2 separate regions of the Homo sapiens genome follow, and region 1 is linked to region 2. The links are contacts of gene promoters, found by promoter capture Hi-C in human tissues and cell types (Jung and others, 2019). All regions are on one chromosome and are shown on one strand. Each heading gives the region's core, a stretch centred on a gene start or on the middle of the fragment in contact. The rest is flanking DNA. Distances are from core to core; before and after follow the strand shown.

Evidence for each region. The method cuts DNA at HindIII sites, captures the fragments that hold promoters and counts their contacts. A contact is called where the count stands out against the background at its distance.
Region 1: a fragment that was not itself captured here is called in contact with the fragment with the promoter of ALDH8A1 in region 2 in 1 of the 25 tissues and cell types used here (adrenal gland).

The regions. Positions count from the first base shown.
Region 1 is chr6:134,403,255-134,410,115 of GRCh38, reverse strand. No RefSeq gene overlaps it. Among named protein-coding and RNA genes, the nearest start is that of LINC01010, 31 kb to the left of the region's middle. The HindIII fragment of the contact is 3,600 bases long and covers 1,904-5,503 here.
Region 2 is chr6:134,945,993-134,952,519 of GRCh38, reverse strand. ALDH8A1 (aldehyde dehydrogenase 8 family member A1) reads left to right here and starts at 2,419. Exons shown (of 7, transcript NM_022568.4): 1 at 2,419-2,604. The coding sequence starts at 2,467. The HindIII fragment of the contact is 10,358 bases long and covers 1-4,724 here.

The DNA.
Region 1 (6,861 bases), core at 2,454-4,953, 540 kb after region 2:
CACCCAGGAGGCTGGGATTACAGGGATGAGCCATTGCGCCTGGCTGAGGAAAACTTTCTAAGACAGATGGGAGAGTAACATTATTTGTGAAGATGTTGTCTTTGATGAACGGTTGGCATGGACTGTGAAACTGATGAACTTAATTTTTACCAACTATGAACACCCATAATCCACATTCACCTGATTCTAATTAGTTATGTTTAACTTTGGGGCTGGGTGCTGTGGCTCATGCCTGTCATCCCAGCACTTTGGGAGGCCGAGGTGGGCAGATTAACTGAGGTCAGGAGTTCGAGACCAGCCTGGCCAACATGATAAAACCTCATCTCTACTGAAAATACAAAAATTAGCCAGGCATACTGGCATGCGCCTGTAATCCCAGCTATTCGGGAGGCTGAGGCAGGAGAATCGCTTGAACCCAGGAAGCGGAGGTTGCGGCGAGCTGAGATCGCGCCACTGCACCAAGACTCCATCTCAAAAAAATTAAATAAATAAGTAAATAAATTTGGTCAACATACACACATGCACACACACACAGACTTCTGTTTTGGAACTTATGACAAATGATAGCTTTTTAAAATTTTTTTCCCTACTTTTTAACTTTCTTCTTAACAGTTTTGGTTTCCGATAAACAAATCAGGAGGTTGAAAGATTTGGATCGGCCACAGAAATTACATTCCATTTCTAGAGCCATTTCACCAGCTGCACCTGCAAGTCATATTAACTAGCAAATGGCAAAACTGGTAATGAAACTCCATGCACATAAAAAAACTGACATCTGATGCTGATAGCATTCTCTTAATAAATCACCTCTCTCAGGCCGGGCATTTACTACAAAAGGATTGCAAGACCCAGAGAATGACAACATCTATTATAGGTTGAACTGAATCAGGGTACTAAAGAGCTAAAAAGGGTAGCTCCTCTGCAATGAAGCCAATGAAATGGTTGAAGAGGCAAGAGAATCTGCTCTTCTTATAAAGAGATGCCCTAGATCAATCAATTAGCCTGTTCCTACCAGTTACTTTTATGATAGATGCTATGCATTGCCTTGCTCTTTACCCACTCCAGGCCCCTGTGAAAGTTGCAAGGCCAGAAAGCTGATACCACATCTGCCAATCGTCTGCAGTGCAGCTCTCCATGTGCTTTGGGCACTTCCAGTTAGATGCATGCACACAAAACTTTGATCTAGAACTGAGTCACATGGGGATAAAGGCAGGGTACAGGCACTCACTTTGCTGGTGTAGACTGTAGCAGAGAGGCGTGGATTTGCACCTGGAAGGTAAGGTGGCGATTTCTTTATTTCATAGCTTCCTGATCAATATCTGTCACCTCTACGCACCATCCTTAATGGTCTGGTTCTGCAGTGTGGTTTGAGGCTCATTTCTGGCAAATCAGCCTGAACCCATTTCCTCAGATCTCTCAATAGTTTGGGAATTATTTATACTTCCTAGGACATACCATTCTGCTTATGCTAGCTGGAGAAGATTCTATTCTCTGCAATAAAAATATTGATCAAGATATTGAATAACCCAAATTAAGCTTTCTTGAAGCCTGTAACTTTGAAACCTGTTACAACTAGAGAAGTGAATAGTCCTACATTTCTTCTGAAATTCCCTACAGTCCATGAGAAGAGAAGGAGACCAGGGAAAGAAAAGAGTCACAAATAGTTGGAAATGGTAATGCTTGGATTGTTGGATCGCCAAAGGCCATTTTATATCTTCTGAATTTTCTGCCTAAAGATTATTGGTTTAATATCTATCTTCCCTCTTAGACTGTAAACTCTGTAAGAATGGAGGCCATATTTGTTTAATCAACACTAAATATGATACCTAGCATACATCTGGCTTATAGTAAATGCACAATAAACAATGTGTAACTGTCTAAAGTAGTAGAAGTGTGTTTGTTCAATAATGTCAATTGTTACTATTTATCCAGCTAATCACTAAGAGACTAGTCATTTTACATATAGTCACTCACTCCTTTATAGAGTAGGTTTTATTACCTTCATTTTTCACACAAAGAGACTGAGTCTCAACAAAGTCAAGTAAGAATCATAGCTACTGGTTGAGTTTTTATTCAAATTCAAGAAGTCTGATTTCAAAATCCATGATGCAGTTCCTATTACACGCCACATATTCAGTTTTAGGGATTCAGTGCCTTTCCAGGCAACTATGAATTGCCTCATAGTGGCTTCATCATCTAGGTCCTGGCATAGGTCCTGGGTCCTCTGTAGAACCCACAGCTTCTACACCTTCATCGGTCCACAGGAAAAGCTTTCAGAAATATTACTGGCATTTGGCTGCATCCAAGTGTGAAGATATCCCTCATGTCAGGTGCTTCTCCTTCGCATTCATAACCTCATACCTGGAAACCTATACCTGTCCTTCTTGAGGCTAAAAACCAGGTTGTCTTTACCCTTGAAATTCCTTGGTGTTTCTGTCAAACAAATTCTGAGGATACCAACAGTAATTTTCCATGCAGGAATTCTTTCATAGAAAACTTATTTTGCTCAAGAATTGTTTCTGCAGTGCAGTCATATTCACCTTGAGAGCACTTTCAGACTTAAAAACTCTTTTTAAAGTCAATGCAACACAAAAGGAACTTGCTTGATGCTGTCACTTTCTTATTCATTCATCTATTCATGCATTTACTCAACAAATATTTATACAGCCTCCAATACTTGTCAGATATTGTTCTGGAAGTTCCACTTAAATGTAGTAATTTAATCCTTCAAATTACTACAATAAAACTATGAAGACTGAGACACACTATTTTGTAGTAGGCATTTTGGATGGTTACATCTTTGGAAGCCTGAATCCTGCTTGTTTGCAGTTCATTTCTTGTAGGAACATTTGGATTAAGCTTAATCGTAGAAATCTGTGTGCACCACTAATTTGCCTGTGACTTATTACCATCCTCTTTTATATGAAAGTGTCCCTTGACTACGTATCAAGTCACGCTCGTTCAAAAACATGCCCACAGTATCTGACATAAAATCTAACATTTTAAGTATAATATTATTACCTCTTTGTTTTCTGAAGCTTCATAAGCCCTGATGCCAAATACATTAACAAATTTTATGTAAACCGAATGTTTATTCTCTCCTGTTCATCAAAGCACAGGCACTGATACAAAGAAGAAAGGAAAATGCCAACTTACAGATTTTATTTTTTATTTATTTATTTTTCTTTTCTTTTATTTATTTATTTTTTGTGAGACAGAGTCTCGCTCCGTTGCCCAGGCTGGAGTGCAGTGGCATGATCTGGGCTCACTGTAACCTCCACCTCCCTGGTTCAAGCAATTCCCTGCCTCAGCCTCCCGAGTAGCTGGGATTACAGGCGTGTGCCAGTGCGCCTGGCTAATTTTTGTATTTTCAGTAGAGATGGGGTTTCACCATCTTGGCCAGGCTGGTCTTGAACTCCTGACGTCGTGATCCACCCAGCTCGGCCTCCGAAAGTGCTGGGATTACAGGCGTTAGCCACCGCACCTGGCCAGAAGAGTTTAAATGAGATATTTTTGCTGGGACCATTTTAAAAAAGATCAGCTTTCTTTGACCTTTTCACCCAGCTGTCTACCTGAGATGGAAACATAGACTCTGGCTGATGACTCATTACAGATTCAAGTCCAGGTGGAGATCAAACTCAAGCAAAGGATCATTGTAGTTATACCTGAAGGAAAAGTCACAGTGGTTCAAGGTCTATTAGAAAGGTTATAACTTGCCCATAAAAATTTAGCTTGGGGCTGAAATATGGCATATGAGTTTCCAGTCCGTAAGTTCTTTAAAATCTGAAAACTCAATTAGATACTTCCAAATTAAATGACTGTTAATAGGCAGAGAATTGCATTTTGATGTTTAAAAATTTCTTGCCCGAACACTTCGGAGACATTTTAATGTTTAAAAATATGGTGTAGCAATTAAAGCCCAGTAAGAAATCTAAAATGTCAGTTCAACCCAGCTTCTTACTTGCACCGTATTACCACTTCCTTGACTATGAGAGATACTTCTTAATATTTCTGGGCTGGCATTGTCTAAATGAAAAACTGTGATAATATTTACCTCTTCCCAGAAAGTGTCAGGTAACCAATTTAATGACTCTACTTCTCTTTTCAAGTTCAACTAATGTATGAAGGAAGAGACCAATACAGAATCTCTTTTCACCTCCCAGGTCCTCTGTGGTAACTGAGTGTAGACCCAGCCAACCTCTCAGAAAATAGGAAGCCTCTGCGCTACTCTCATTCCTGCATATTTAAAGCCAGAAAGGAATTTTTCCTTTTGCTAATTCCCAGCAGAGACAGGTTCGTGCCTTAGAAAGAATAAAGGATTTAAGAGTTGTATCGACTTGGGTTTGAAGTTGAGCTCCCACTTTCTAGATGTGTGTACTGTTTTCATGTTTGCAAAGTAGGGTTTTTGTTTGTGAGGGATGAATAAGTACATGAGACATGCCCAGTGCTCAGTAGACAGTCAATGGCAGCTGCAACAGTGAACCCCCAGTGGAAGAGTTCAACTCCGTAACAACCCACTGGCCAGCCTTGCAGGTCTCCTCCAGGCCTTGGGGAAGCCTCTCAACCCAGAAAGGCCAAATTCATGCAGGTAGGTGACTTTGCTCACCCTCATGCCGAGAAGCAAAATAATTGATTTAGATTGGAGAAATATACTCAGACATTGCTTCAGAGAAGATGTTCCAAGAATGAAGGGTATTTTCATTTTCTGGCAGTATAATGGCGTGATTTCCCAACCAGGAGCATGGCTTTTCTTTTCCTAAATAATTAGCTTCATAATAATTTCTAATATGAATTTGCTTATTTAATGGGAATACAATGCGCAATTCTGTATTTCTTATTAATACTCTAAGGAACAATAATAGTCAAAGCTTGGAAAGCTTATTAAGACTAATACCCAGTTGTGGTTAAATGCATTAAAAAGCCTTAGTAAAGAATCTGCACTATTGATCCCATTCACAGTCTCAGCTTTTGCAGAGGGTCCATTAAGGCACAGCATGTTATCAATGCAAATTAGTCCCCAGTGTGCAGCTCTTCTCCACTTTAAAAGGAGGAGGCCTGAAACTGAGGCTGAAATATTTTGGAAATTGCTAAATAATTATAGCTTTTTTCTTTCTCTTCTTTCCATATTTTATATAATTCACTTTTATAGAGTTTTCAATGTTCAGTGTCTCATGTGCAAACAACAATTATCCAAATTGATTAATAGGAATATAATGAAATGTACTTTTTCATATATCTTAAAAAATTGTTTTATCTTCCTCCCTATGGGCCTAATGTGAATGAATAACAGACACTAGACGAAGTTATATACTAAGAAAATTTGTATTACTGGATCTTCATGGCCCAACATTCTATTTATCAAGAAAACAAAATGTGCAGTAGACTGTTCATCTGTACAAGAACCAGCCTATCTAATTAATTATTCGTTTCATTCCCCAATGAGTAGCCTATCAGAAATATATATGCATATATGTATATTATATATTTTTACTAGATATATATTTATATAAATATATATTTATATATACTAGATATATAGAATATATATATTCTATATATATATTCTATATATAGATATATATATTCTATATATATATCTATATATAGATATATATATTCTATATATATATTCTATATATAGATATATATAGACTAGACATATCTATATATATCTATTCTATATATATAGGTATATATAGAATATATATATACCTATATATATTCTCTCTATATATATACTCTCTATATATATACAGAGAGAGAAAGAGATAGAGTTTATATATATACATAGAGAGTATATATATATATATATATATATATATATATATATATACACACATACAGAGAGAGAGAGAGTTTTCAATGTTCAGTGCCTCATGTGCAAACAACAATTTTCCAAATCATATATATATATATGAGACATGGGACAGGGTCTTGCTCTGTCACCCAGGCTGAAATGCAGTGGCACCATCATAGCTGACTGCAGCCTAGAACCTCTGGGCTCAAGGGATCCTCCCTCAGCCTCCCAAGTAGCTAGGACTACGGGAACATGCCACCAGGTCTGGCTTATTTTTTGTTAATTGTAGAGCTTTTTTTTTTTTTTTTTTTGCTTGAGAGCATTAGATAAGCTTTTTTCCTTAATAGCTTTTTTATTGAGATAAAATTCACATAATATAAAATTAATTATTGTAAAGTATAAAATTCAGTGGCATTCACTATATCCACAGTGTTAGGCAATCAACCCTTCTAACTGGTTTCAAAATATTTTCATCACCCCAAAGAAAACCCTCTTACACATTAAGCAGTCACCCCTTATTCCCTGCACCCTCATCTTCAGTCCCTGGTAATCACCAAAGTTTGATTGTTTTAGAGCTATTTACAACAAACTAGAGGAAGAATTTCCAGTCGGGCATGGTGGCTCACACCTGTAATCTCAGCAGTTTGGGGGGCCGAGGCAGGTGGATCACCTGAGGCCAGGAGTTCGAAACCACCCTGGCCAACATGGTGAAACCCCATCTCTACTAAAAATATAAAATTAGCTGGGCGTGGTGGCATGCGCCTGTGTTCGAAACCACCCTGGCCAACATGGTGAAACCCCATCTCTACTAAAAATATAAAATTAGCTGGGCGTGGTGGCATGCGCCTGTAATCCCAGCTACTTAGGGGGCTGAGACAGGAGAATCCCTTGAACCTGGAAGGCAGACTTTGCAGTGAGCCAAGATCACGCTATTGCACTCCAGCCTGGGCAACAAGAGCGAAACTCCACCTCAAAAACAAAGCAAAACAAACAATACAACAAACTAGAGGAAGAATCTCCTATGTCTTTTCCCTAGGAACAGTAGTAATGAACTGACACAACTG
Region 2 (6,527 bases), core at 1,170-3,669:
TCACGCCTGTAATCCCAGCACTTTGGGAGGCTGAGGAGGGCGGATCACTTGAGGTCAGGAGTTTGAGAACAGCCTGACCAACATGGTGAAACCCCGTCTCTACTAAAAATACAAAATTAGCCAGGCGTGGTGGCACATACCTGTAATCCCAGCTACTTGGGAGGCTGAGGCAGGAGAATTGCTTGAACCCAGGAAGCAGAGGTTGCTGTGAGCTGAGATCATGCCATTGCACTCCAGCCCGGGCAACAAGAGTGAAACTCTGTCTCAAAAAAAAAAAAAGAAAAAGAAAAACCAGCGAAGGCCCAGCTTGAGCAGCCAATGGCACAAGAAAATGGCACAAGGAGGCCACTGTAACTGACAGACACGCCTGCTCTGCCACTGGGACTGATCTTGTGTGGGGAGTTCTGATCAGCACCAGGCACTCTTTAGAAGCACCGTGTCCGGCTTCTGTCCTCTTCTACTGTCACGTGGCAGAAAATTCCTCTCTCATGCTATCCTGGGTAAAGTCCTTTCTTCAAAAAGATCTCCCTTCCATAGTCCTCCCATTAGAATCTTTTGCACTCTGTACAAAAAGACAAACATTCTGATGAGTCCATCAACATTAGGCAGAGTTGTTGGAGACCCAGGAAGATGGGCTACAGAAGTCTTTATGCACACACCGGGTGGTACTCACTGTCTCTCAGCACCAAGCTCACTTCTTGGTACTTCACTCTGTGGTGCCAGGGCTGGGACCTGCGTATTTCTCTCATTCTGTTTCCAGCTGACCTGACCGTGGGCAGCACCAGAAAAAGCCTGAGACTACCTTCTGTCTCCAGTCCCTGTCAGCGACTCTCCAGCGACAGGCAACGGCGCCAGCTCCAGACTCCAGCTGCTCTGGGCCTCCCAGAATCAGCCACACCATGCTTGTCAGAAGTCTCAGCAAGAATTTTGGAGAATATCTAGAGACCAATAAAGATGGAAGCAGAGAGGGCCTAAGGAGGTGCACGGCCAGCAAGTGCCCTCATGTGATCAATGAATTTTAGAATATTGGTACCTAACCTTCAACTGAATTATAACTATAAATCATAATTATAAAAGTAATATAGGCTTGCCATAAAATATCCAAGCAGTTTAAAACGGCTTCCTGTCAACCATGTAAATAGCCAAAGAAACTATGCTGTATATATTATTCACTAGTTTTATTTTTTCACTTAACAATGCATCCTTCTAATGTCTAAGTAGTATTCCCTGTTAAGAATATAACAATTATACTCTAATATTCTCCAATTGATGGACTTTAGGTTGTTTTGATTTTTAAATTATGATAAAAAAGGATGTCCTGTGACTTATGTACTTGTTCATGAGCACGTAATTCTGTAGGAGAGATTCCTAGAAGAGAAATTGACCAGACCCTGACAAATTGCCCCAAGCAGTGTTCTGTGAACCCTCCCGCCTATGGACTAGGGATGATTCTCCACATCCTCACAGAGTAGATGTTCTCAATCTTTAAAAATGCTCTCCAGTATGATTGGCAAATCAGGCCACCTCTGTATTTCACATTCCTTGCTTAACAACAAGGCTGAACATTGTTAATATATTCATTAGCCAATTGTGTTCCTTTTCCTATGGATTGCTTTTTTGTATCTTTGCTTATCTTTTCTGTTGGGGTGCTCATTTCTCTTACCAATTTGTAGAAATTCTCAGCTACATCAGGGATCTGAAGCCCTTGCTATATGTGTCACACATGTTTTTGGCTTGTCTTTATCTCCATGGCACATCTAGGAAGATGTGAGCAGCCACTGTGGCCCCGGTTTTGGGATGGAGAGACAGCTCTTCCAAGAGAGGGCAGCCAAGGTAAAGAAACACAGATGAGCCACGGAAAGAGGGCATCTGTCTTCAGTTACCTCTGCAGGGTAAGCAGTGATGCATTGAGGAAAAAGTATATGATTTGGAGATTAAAGGGCTACAGTTCATCCCCTGCTAACTATGTGACCTTGGAAAAATGGTCTAACCTCTCCAAGGCTCAGTTTCTTCTATAAAAGAGAGGAAGTAATGGTTACTTCATATAGGATTGTTGTGTGGAATAAACGAGTAAATTCATGTAAAGGACTTGCTTTGGGGCCTGGCATCCAATCAGTGTTTGAGCAATGAACAGTTTACGGTGTGAACCCAATAAAATCACATGCACAGATGCCTTCTGATGATTTAAAGGGCTATGAACACATAAGTAAGTAGCTGTTACTTTTACACACAATTATCCATGTCAGGTAATGTACTAGAAGTCTGTGAAACATTCAGCCACTCTCTTAGTTCTGAGTTTGGAGACTGGAATGCTCTCTGAGAGCGTCAGGTGCCCTCCCACATTCACTGATTGGTAAAGGGGAAGATGGGGGCTGGGAAGGGGGAGGCTCACTCAGGAGTCCAGACAGTGGTGGGGACAACCTGAGTGCTCAGTCGTAAAGAGGAAAGGCAGAATTTTTCCTTGCTATGGCTGGAACAAACGCACTTTTGATGCTGGAAAACTTCATAGATGGAAAATTTTTACCTTGTAGCTCATATATAGATTCTTACGACCCATCAACAGGGGAAGTGTATTGCAGAGTGCCAAATAGTGGAAAAGACGAGGTGAGTATATGCACTTAAAGAAGACTGAAATGTGTTTAATATGTTGGCCAATTATGGGTAACAGTTTTCTAAAAGCAGAGGGAGTTGGGGGAAGATGTAGGATTGTTAAACATGATAGAAGGAAGATTCTAGTTCTCAGAAGATGTACCTTGTAACTGGACTGTATGATACCTAGAACAAATCTCTTCCTATATGCAGAAAGTAAGTCATTTTTCTAGCCAACCTAACACAGCCCTGTGTGCAGTTTTTTTTTGCAATTCTCAAACATTTCCTAATCAGTGTCTAGTACAAAGTATTATTTGTAAGAGCTATCACTTTGTTAAATATTCCCTTTTCTCCACCACGCACTGCTTAAATTTACCACTATATCCATGGAATTAAAAAAAAAGTATAGCTTTACTAAAATAAACAAACAAGCAAAAAACTGTGGGCTTTGTTTTAGATTGTCTTCTCATAATTTGTCATGTCTTCAAAATACCTAGTAAAATAAAATCAATCATTTGAATGATGAAACTCAAAATCAAATTCCCATATATTTTTGGAGTTAGATTTAACAGCGTCTTTTTTCTTATCCAAAGTGTTTAATGGCATATGCATTACATTTTTTTGGTGATGTAGAATTAATTTTACTTGGAGAATTTTGTAAAATATTTGAGATATATTTGATTAGCTATCAATTATTGCACTGAGAATGTAAATATATCTGAAGTGGTAAATGTAGCTGATGTATATATAGTCATCTAATGCCTTATGAATTATAATTTATTCTTTTTAAGGCACAAATAACTAGATTATTTAAAATATAGTCTTCCTATAAAAATATATATTCCATGCAAAGTTTTTTTTTAAGAACATTGCTATTTTTTTTCTTTTTTGTTAATACTTCAAATCTGTCTTGCATTTAAAGTAAACCTTCAGACTTAGGGATTAATGTTTGCAAATGTTGGTTAATGCATTGGTTAAATTATAAACTGCAATTTTGTTTGCTTCAAATGACTTAACACAGCTCTGGGAAATCCAGCTTTGTGTTTTCCACTCTTCCTTGTTTGCCAAAGTGAAGTTAAAAATGACAAACATGCCAAATTCAGCTGAAATATTTCCTGCAGCTAATGGCTCATAACTTTTTAGAAAATAGAATGAGCTATGGATGCGCTAGCTAGTAGAGTAATAGATATGTTCAGTTTCTCAGCAATCCAACTTCCAAATATCCTATCTGATCCCATAAGTCATAGTTTTTTCCGGCTTGAAAAATATGGTTACCATACAAACTGCATGTCCAATTTCCAAAACATCACTCAGGAAAATGTTGCTGGTGCTGCTAACAGTGGCTCCCGTTTATTCAACTTTTGCTTTGTGCTTTGCAGTCATTAAGCCCTTTTTTAACAAAAAATTAAAAAATTGATACATAATAATTGTACATCTTTATGGGCATATGTGACATTTTGATACATGCATACAATGTGTCATGATCAAATCAGGGTAATTAGGATCTCCATCACATTAAACATTTATCATTTCTTGGTGTTGGGAACATTCCAAATCTTTTCTTCTAACTATTGTGAAATATACAATAAATTATTGTTAACTATTGTCACTCTACTAGAACTTATTCCTTTTAACCATATTTTTGTATTAATTAGCCAACCTCTATCCTCTCCTCTACCCTTCCCAGCCTCTGGTAACCATAATTGTACTCTCTACCTCCATGAGATCAACTTTTTTAAGCTTCCACATATGAGTGAGAACATGTAATATTTGTATTTTTGTGCCTTGCTTACTTCACTTAACGTAATATCCTCCAGCTCAAATCGTGTTGGTGCAAATGACAGGATTTTGTTCCTTTTTATGGCTGAATAATATTCCATTGTGTATATATACCATATTTTCTTTATCCATTCAGCTGTTGATGGACATTAGGTTGAGTCCATATCTTGACTATTGTAAATAGTGCTTCAACAAATATGGGGGTACAGGTATCTCTTCAGTATACTGATTTCCTTTTCTTTGGATAAATTTCCAGTAGTGGGATTGCTGGATCATACTGTTGTTCTATTTTTATTTTTTTTTTTTTGAGAAACCTACATGCGTTTTCCATAATGGCTGCACTAATTTACTTTCCCACCAACACTGTATTTGTCTTCCCTTTTTTTTTGCAGCTTCACCAGCCTTTTTTATTTCTTATTTTTTGATAATGACCATTTTAACTGGGATGAGATAATAACTCGTTGTGGTTTTGACTTGCATTTCCCTAATAATTAGTGATGTTAAGCATTTTTTATATACCTGTTGGCCATTTGTACATCTTCTTTTTGTGGAATATCTCTTTAGATCATTTGCCCGTTTTTAAATTGGATTTTTTGGGCGGTGGCTATTGAGTTGTATATGTATATATACAAGCTCAAGCTCCTTATATATTCTGGTTATTAATCCCTTGTCAGATGGATAGTTTGCAAATATTTTCTCCCATTCTGTAGGTTGCCTCTTAACTCTGCTGTTTCTTCTGTTGTGCAGAAGCTTTTTAGCTTGATATTATTTTATTTTGTTTATTTATTTTCTTTTGTTGCCTGTGCTTTTGAGGTCTTGCCCAAAAAAATCTTTGCCCAAATCAGTGTCATGAAGTATTTACCCTATGTTTTCTTATAGTAGTTTCATAGTTTTGGGTCTTACATCTATCTAAGTCTTTAATCTGTTTTGATTTGTTTTGGTGAGAGATAGGGGTCTAGTTTCATTCTTCTGCATATGGTTATCCAGTTTTCCCAGCACCATTTATTGGAGAGACTATGTTTTCACCAATGCATATTTTTGGCAGCTTTGTAAAAAACGAGTTGGCTGTAAATGCATGGATTTATTTCTGGATTCTCTATTCTGTTTCACTGGTCTATGTGTCTGTTTTTACACCAGTGCCATGCTACTTTGGTTACTATAGCTTTGTAGTATATTTTAAAGTCTGGTAGTGTGCAATCAGTAAGCCCTTTAATATAGATTATCCAAAGAAGCGAGTTGTAACAACTTAGAAGTCTCTATTATGATCCTTATTTTACAGAGGACAGTACTAACACTCTCATCTCTGATGCTTAGATCCATGGGCATGTGCACCTGTGCGTGCACGCACACATGCGCACCTGTGCGCGCGCGCACACATGCGCACCTGTGTGCATAGCACATTTGCATTATAGCATTGCAGTTATAAGCACATACTAGAGTCAGACTGCCTGGTTCAAATACAAGCTGCACCACTTGGTATCTATGGCTTTGACTTAGAGCTGAACTTTTGCATGCCTCAGTCTCCTCATCTATAAAATGAGGATAATAATGATATCTACTTTATAGTGTTATTCTGAGGATTAAACTGACTAATATGCTTAAAGCCCTTAGTGCTTGGCATATAGTAAATGCTTTCTATGTATTAACTTATGCTAATATTATTGTATGTAGTACATTAATATGTATTCTATATTACATGGACATAAGTTGTGCTATAAGGCAACTTAGAAAATATGAGTGGACTTGAATTTTCTGAATAGCAAAAAGACCAGATTTTTACATTGACTGTAGGAATTCATGCTCCTCTTGCTGGCTGGCAGTGGGGCTTCCTCATGGCTGCAGCTGGTGGTGGAGGTCACCAAAGCCATCTCTTCCCCTATCCTGTCTGCAGGTCCACATTCAAGATTTAGTTTTTGAGGTGAAGCCACCATATTTCTAGAAATTTCTAATTAAGATGAGAATCATTTTATACCTTACTTCAGCTCAGCTAAAAGTGACTGTATTAGTTCGTTCTAACACTGCTATAAAGATAATACCTGAGACTGGGTAATTTATTAAGGAAAGAGGTTTAATTGACTCAGTCCTGCATGGCTGGGGAGGCCTCAGGAAACTTACAATCATGGCTGAAGAGGAAGCAGGCATGTCTGGCGGCAGGCGAG